Linked DNA regions of Homo sapiens: region 2 is linked to region 1. Evidence: promoter capture Hi-C in human tissues and cell types (Jung and others, 2019). All regions are on one chromosome and are shown on one strand. The core of a region is centred on a gene start or on the middle of the fragment in contact, and the rest is flanking DNA. Distances in the headings are between cores, read along the strand shown.

Region 1 (2,807 bases), core at 264-2,763:
ACTCCTGACCTTCTGATCCACCTGCCTCAACCTCCCAAAGTGCTGGGATTACAGGCATGAGCCACCATGCCCGGCCCATGGAGATGTTATAATGGAATGTGCTTAGAGTGATAGGAACTAGGAATGGATCTTACACTTTCAAATGGTTGGGAAAACATCAAAAAATGTTTCTGGACACGTGAAAATGACACGAAATTCAAATTTTTGTGTCCATAAAGTTTTATTGGAACACCGCCAGGCTCATTCTTTTACGTATTGTCTATGGTTGATTTTATGCTACGATGGCAGAGTTGAGTAGTTGGGACAGAGACCATATGGCTGGCAAAGCCTAAAAGATTTACAATCAATCTCTTAAAGCAAATGGTTTGCCCACCCTTGCTTAGAGAGAGCCTCCAGGAAGAAAAGAGCAGTGAGGGTGACGTTGAAGAAGGGGGCAAGACTAGGTCACCAGGGGCTCCCTGTGCCCCGCCCAGGCACTGAACTTAAGCTGAGGGCAAGTGGGAGCCATTGAAGGTGCAGGCAGGAGAGTGACCTGCTCAAGTGAATGTTGGAGTAGGATCACTCTGCCTCCTCAGCAAGGATGGATGAAGCTGGGCACGGAGGCACCTGGAGCAGGTAGACCAGCCCTAGGCAGCCCGGATGGTTCAGCAAAGGCCTCTGGGACTATTCTGGAGCACATTCGCTGGGATATAGAATAGGTAGCGCATCCCTGCACCTTCGACGATGGCGGCGCAGAGATGTCTGCTGCGTACCCACAATGCCTTGTGCCTCGCACCGCGGGAGGAAGTGGCTGCTCTGTAGGCCCCAGAACGGAACCACTTGAAAGGCGGGAAACACGTGGGGGACGCCTCTGAGCCCTGAGAGGAATGGCCTAGAGCAAGGCCACGAGGAGCCAGGGCACGACACGGTGGGCCCTCGGAGAACCGCTGGTGGGCAAGTGGCAGGAGAGTAGGCTCAAGAGGGTTGGCAGGGCCGACCGGGCCTAGGGTGGCCGGGTGAGGGGGGCGGGGGAGGGGAGGCCCCCCCAGTTACCCCAGGAGTGCGCAGGTGGCTTCGGGCATGTGAGGGACGGAGGGGGTCGGACGGAAGGACACAGGCCGGTGTACAGCGGTCACCCACGCCCCAAGCAGACACACAGACTCTGCAGACACCGTAACAGGCCCGGCACCGTGCACACATCACAGGCCCAGGCCTCTGCACATGGTCACAGATGCCTATGCGAAATCCCGGCCCAGGTTCACGCGGGCACAGGCGCATCCACGCACACACCGCAACACGGATCTGCACGTCCATGCACACACAGGCACAGACTCGGGCACACGGAGTCACACCGACCCGGGCACGCTGCGGAACGCACCCGTCCACGCATACACAGAACGGGACTTGCTGCCCCGCACGCACACCAGGCCCGCACTCCGAACTACCCGCATTCCCCGCACACGCCCCCGCGCAGGCCGCCCCGGGCCGTGGGCCGGCGCACGCACGGTCACAGGAGGGGCGCGCGCACACTCGCACTCACACACACTCGCTCGCACACGCACACACTCGATCCAGCACGCGCGGGCGGCGCGGGGCGGCGGCGGCCGGAGTCTGCGGTGCGAGGCGCCCCCGGCCCGGCGCGGCGGCGGAGCCCGGCTGGCGGGGGAGGGGAGGGGGTTGCGGAGGGGGCGGGGTGGGGGCCGGAGCCGCTTGAGCCGGCGGGAGCGGGCACCCCTGCGCGCCGCGCTCGGCCTCGCCTCCGCGCCCCCCGCGCGCCCGCCGCGGTCCCTCCCCCGCGCCCGTCCGCTCGCCGGGCCCCCGCCGCCGCCCCGGGGTGCAGCCGAGCGGCCGCGCCGGGTCCCCGGGACGGGGTGGAAGTGGGGGTGGGGGGAGGGGATCGGGGCCGGGCCGGGGCCGCGCTGCCTGCGATGCCGGGCGCCCGCCGCAGCCGCTGCCGCCGGAGCCCGGGATGGGGCGAGAGGCTGCGGCGGACGCCAGCATCTCCCCGCCGGGGACCCCGGGGGCCGCGGAGCCGCCGCCGCCGCTGCTGCCGCCGTTGCTGAGACCCAGCGGGCGATGGGTGAGTTGACCCCGGCGTCCTGGGGGGCGCCGCGGCCCCTCTATCCCCGCGCTGCCCGCCCTCCCGCGCTGCGCTTGGCGCCCCCCGCCCGGCTCCGCGGCCCACTCCCCGAGCGTGACCTTAGGGGGCGGGCGCGGGCGCACTGGGGCTGGGGGCCCGGAGGCCGCGGTGGGGGCGGGATGCCGGGGAAGCCGCTCGGCGCGGGCCCCCTCCCCCTACCCGCCGCTCCTCCGAGCTCCCCGGTCCCCGGAGGGCAGAGCCTCAGCGCCCGACCCCCTCCCACGGCCGGGCGGGGGACGTCCCCGAGGCGCGGGGCTCGAGCCGTGCTTTGTGCGCGGCACCCCCCAGCCTCCGGCGCGGCTCCCCCACAACCTCCGGCGCGGCGCGGGGCTGGGGTGGGAGGCCTCCGCGCCCGCCTTCCCCACCCCCGACCCCAGACTGCGGCGGCGGCAGCCGAGGCCCAAGCGCAGTCGGGGGCTGGGCGGGTGCGGGGGCTGCGGCCGTAGCTACCCCTGGGGACCAGGCAGAGGCAAATGTGGAGAGGGCCCCCGGCCATTTACCGGGGTGGGGGCCCCCGGCTCCTTGCATTGCTCTGCCCAGGGCGGGGGAGGGAACCTGGCTGAGGGAGGGCGCTATAAATATCTGCAAATAGTGAGTTCTGGAACCGGGAGTGGGGAGGGGAGTGCGCCTGGGTGTGTGTATGGTGGGGTTCCTGAGCTGGGGTGCAGCAGGAAGGGATGCCGCGCGG
Region 2 (2,790 bases), core at 290-2,789, 1.2 Mb after region 1:
CTATTCTGGAGGCTGAGGCAGGAGAACCACTTGAACCCAGCAGGCGGAGGTTGCAGTGAGCCAAGATCATGCCACTGCACTCCAGCCTGGGCAACAGAGTGAGACTGTCTCAAGAAAAAAAAAAAAAGAAAAAAAAAGAAAACTTTGGAGAAAATGTGGTTTCAGAAAGGGTGAGCTGACCTGTCTCTTCCTGCATGCAGCAAGCCATAAGGATTCCTCTGGGAGGGGTACACTCCCCTTATCAGGGGGGTGAAAATATCCCTTATCACCAGAGACTGGAAGTTGGGGGCTGCAGTGCAGTGGACCTGAACAACTATACTTCATGAAGTAACCTTTATTTTCTTTTCCTTTTTTTTTTTTTTTGAGACAGAATCTGTCTCACCCAGGCTGGAGTGCAATGGCACAATCTCGGCTCACTGCAACCTCTGCCTCCCGGGTTTAAGAGATTCTCCTGCCTCAGCCTCCCGCGTAGCTGGGATTACAGGCATGCACCAACAGGCCTGGCTAATTTTTGTACTTTTAGTAGAGATGGGGTTTCACCATTTTGGCCAGGCTGGTCTCAAACTCCTGACCTCAGATGATCCGCCTGCCTCGGCCTGCCAGAGTGCTGGGATTACAGGTATGAGCCACTGCACCTGGCGCCCGAAATGACCTTTCTATTCTGCTGGTTGTATACCCTCCCATACATCTCCCGGTGACTCCCTTAGAAATTTACTGCCCGTAACCAGATCCCTTTTGCCCTGTTATTTCTTCTCAAATGTATTGTTCTTTGTCGAAAAAGTATAAATGCATCTTACTTTGGCCACTTCTTCAGACTTCACTCTTGTGAAGATCCCTGTGTACATGGAAAACTAATAAAGCTTATATGCTTTTATCTTGCTACTCTGCCTTGTGTCAATTTGGTCTCTAGATATAGCTGAGAGCCCACATAAGAGGCACATGAGGTTGGAGGTGATCTCTCACTCTGCTGCAAAACAAAGCCCTAACCCCCAAATGTGTTAGTATCTGGAGATGGAGTCTTTGGGAAGCGATCCGGTTTAGAGGAAGTCTTGAGGGTGTGGCCCTTATAAGAAGAGACATCAGAAAGCTTGCTTCCCCTCTGCCTCTCTCCACCTGCACACTTCTGTGAGGATACAGAAGACTGATGTCTGCAAGCCAGAAAGAGTCTTTTATTTATTTATTTATTTTTGAGATGGAGTCTCACTCTGTCACCCAGGCTGGAGTGCAGTGGCACAATTTCAGCTCACTATACTTTCTGAAGTAACCTTTCTTTTTTTTTTTGAGACAGAATCTCCCTCTTTCGCCCAGGCTGGAGGGCAATGGCGCAATCTCGGCTCACTGCAACCTCCACCTCCCGGGTTCAAGCGATTCTCCTGCCTCGGCCACCTGAGTAGCTAGGATTACAGGTGCCCACAACCAAGCCCAGCTAAATTTTGTATTTTTAGTAGAGATGGGGTTTCACCATGTTGGCCAGGCTGGTCTTGAACTCCTGACCTCAGGTGATCCGCCCACCTCGGCCTCCCAAAGTGCTGGGATTACAGGCATGAACCACCACACCCGGCCAAGTCTGGCCAGGAAGAGAATCCTCAGCAGGAATGCAATTGGCTGGCACTTTGATCTGGGACTTCCCAGCCTCCAGAATCAGGAGAAATAAATGCCTGTTGTTTAAGCCGCCCGGTATTTTATTATATCAGCCTGAGCTGACTAAGATGATTTGTGAGAGCTTTTTTTGTTGTTGTTGTAAATGTTAGAAATTTAACTCTGATTTGAGCAAAAAGGGGGAATGTATTGGCTTATTAAAGGGAAACGTTGAGGACTAGATCTGGCTTTAAGTCATGACTGGATCCAAGGGCTCAAGGCCATCGGGACAGACATTCCCTTTCTCTCTTCCTCACATTTTATTTTATTTTATTTATTTATTTTTTGAGATGGAGTCTCGCTCTGTCATCCAGGCTGGAGTGCAGTGGTGCAATCTCAGCTCACTGCAACCTCTGCCTCCCAGGTTCAAGCAGTTCTCTGCCCCAGCCTCCCGAGTAGCTGGGATTACAGGCCCTCGCCACCACGCCCAGCTAATTTTTTTTTTTTTTTTTTTTGTATTTTTAGTAGAGACAGGGTTTCACCATCTTGGCCAGGCTGGTCTTGAACTCCTGACCTGTGATCCACCCACCTCAGCCTCCCAAAATGCTGGGATTACAGGCGTGAGCCACCGCGCCCACCCTCTTCCTCACGATTTATCTCTCCTCACTGTCTGGCTCAGTTTTCCTCTCTTTTGGCTTCCTTCTCATAGGGGATGTTCTCCCAAGTGGTAGCAAAGATGGTGCCCAGCAGGCATGTAAACTTGCCTTGTTCCTACTGGCAGCAGCTCCAGGAATTAGCATATCTTCTTTCCTGCTACCCGGTACTCCTTGCCACCTTTCTCCCCAGTGTCTGTTTCAAACCCTGAATAAGCCTCTGATTGGTCCTGTATGAGTTACATATCTTCCCACTTCCACCCAATCAAGCATGAAAACCAGAGAAGTGGAACACACTTATTGGCTAGGATCAGTCACATGGGTATCCCCACTGTGTCCTTGTCTGTGTCTCAGCTTGATACATTCTGTGTTCTCAGATCCTCCTGGGGTCTGTTTTGCAACATGTGACAAGAAAGTAATCTGGGCTTGTTGAAGTGGCTCATGCCTGTAATGCCAACACTTTGTGAGGCCAAGGCAGGAGGATCACTTGAGCCCAGGAGTTTGAGACCAGCCTGGACAACATAGGAAGACCCCATCTCTATTAGAAACAAAGAAAGTT

The links. The method cuts DNA at HindIII sites, captures the fragments that hold promoters and counts their contacts. A contact is called where the count stands out against the background at its distance.
Region 2: a fragment that was not itself captured here is called in contact with the fragment with the promoter of MGAT3 in region 1 in 1 of the 25 tissues and cell types used here (spleen).

What each region holds. Positions count from the first base shown.
Region 1 is chr22:39,455,499-39,458,305 of GRCh38, forward strand. MGAT3 (beta-1,4-mannosyl-glycoprotein 4-beta-N-acetylglucosaminyltransferase) reads left to right here and starts at 1,514. Exons shown (of 2, transcript NM_002409.5): 1 at 1,514-2,059. RefSeq lists silencers at 1,440-1,499, 2,230-2,499, 2,510-2,639. The HindIII fragment of the contact is 12,980 bases long and covers 1-2,807 here.
Region 2 is chr22:40,700,794-40,703,583 of GRCh38, forward strand. No RefSeq gene overlaps it. Among named protein-coding and RNA genes, the nearest start is that of MCHR1, 23 kb to the left of the region's middle. The HindIII fragment of the contact is 6,289 bases long and covers 1-2,790 here.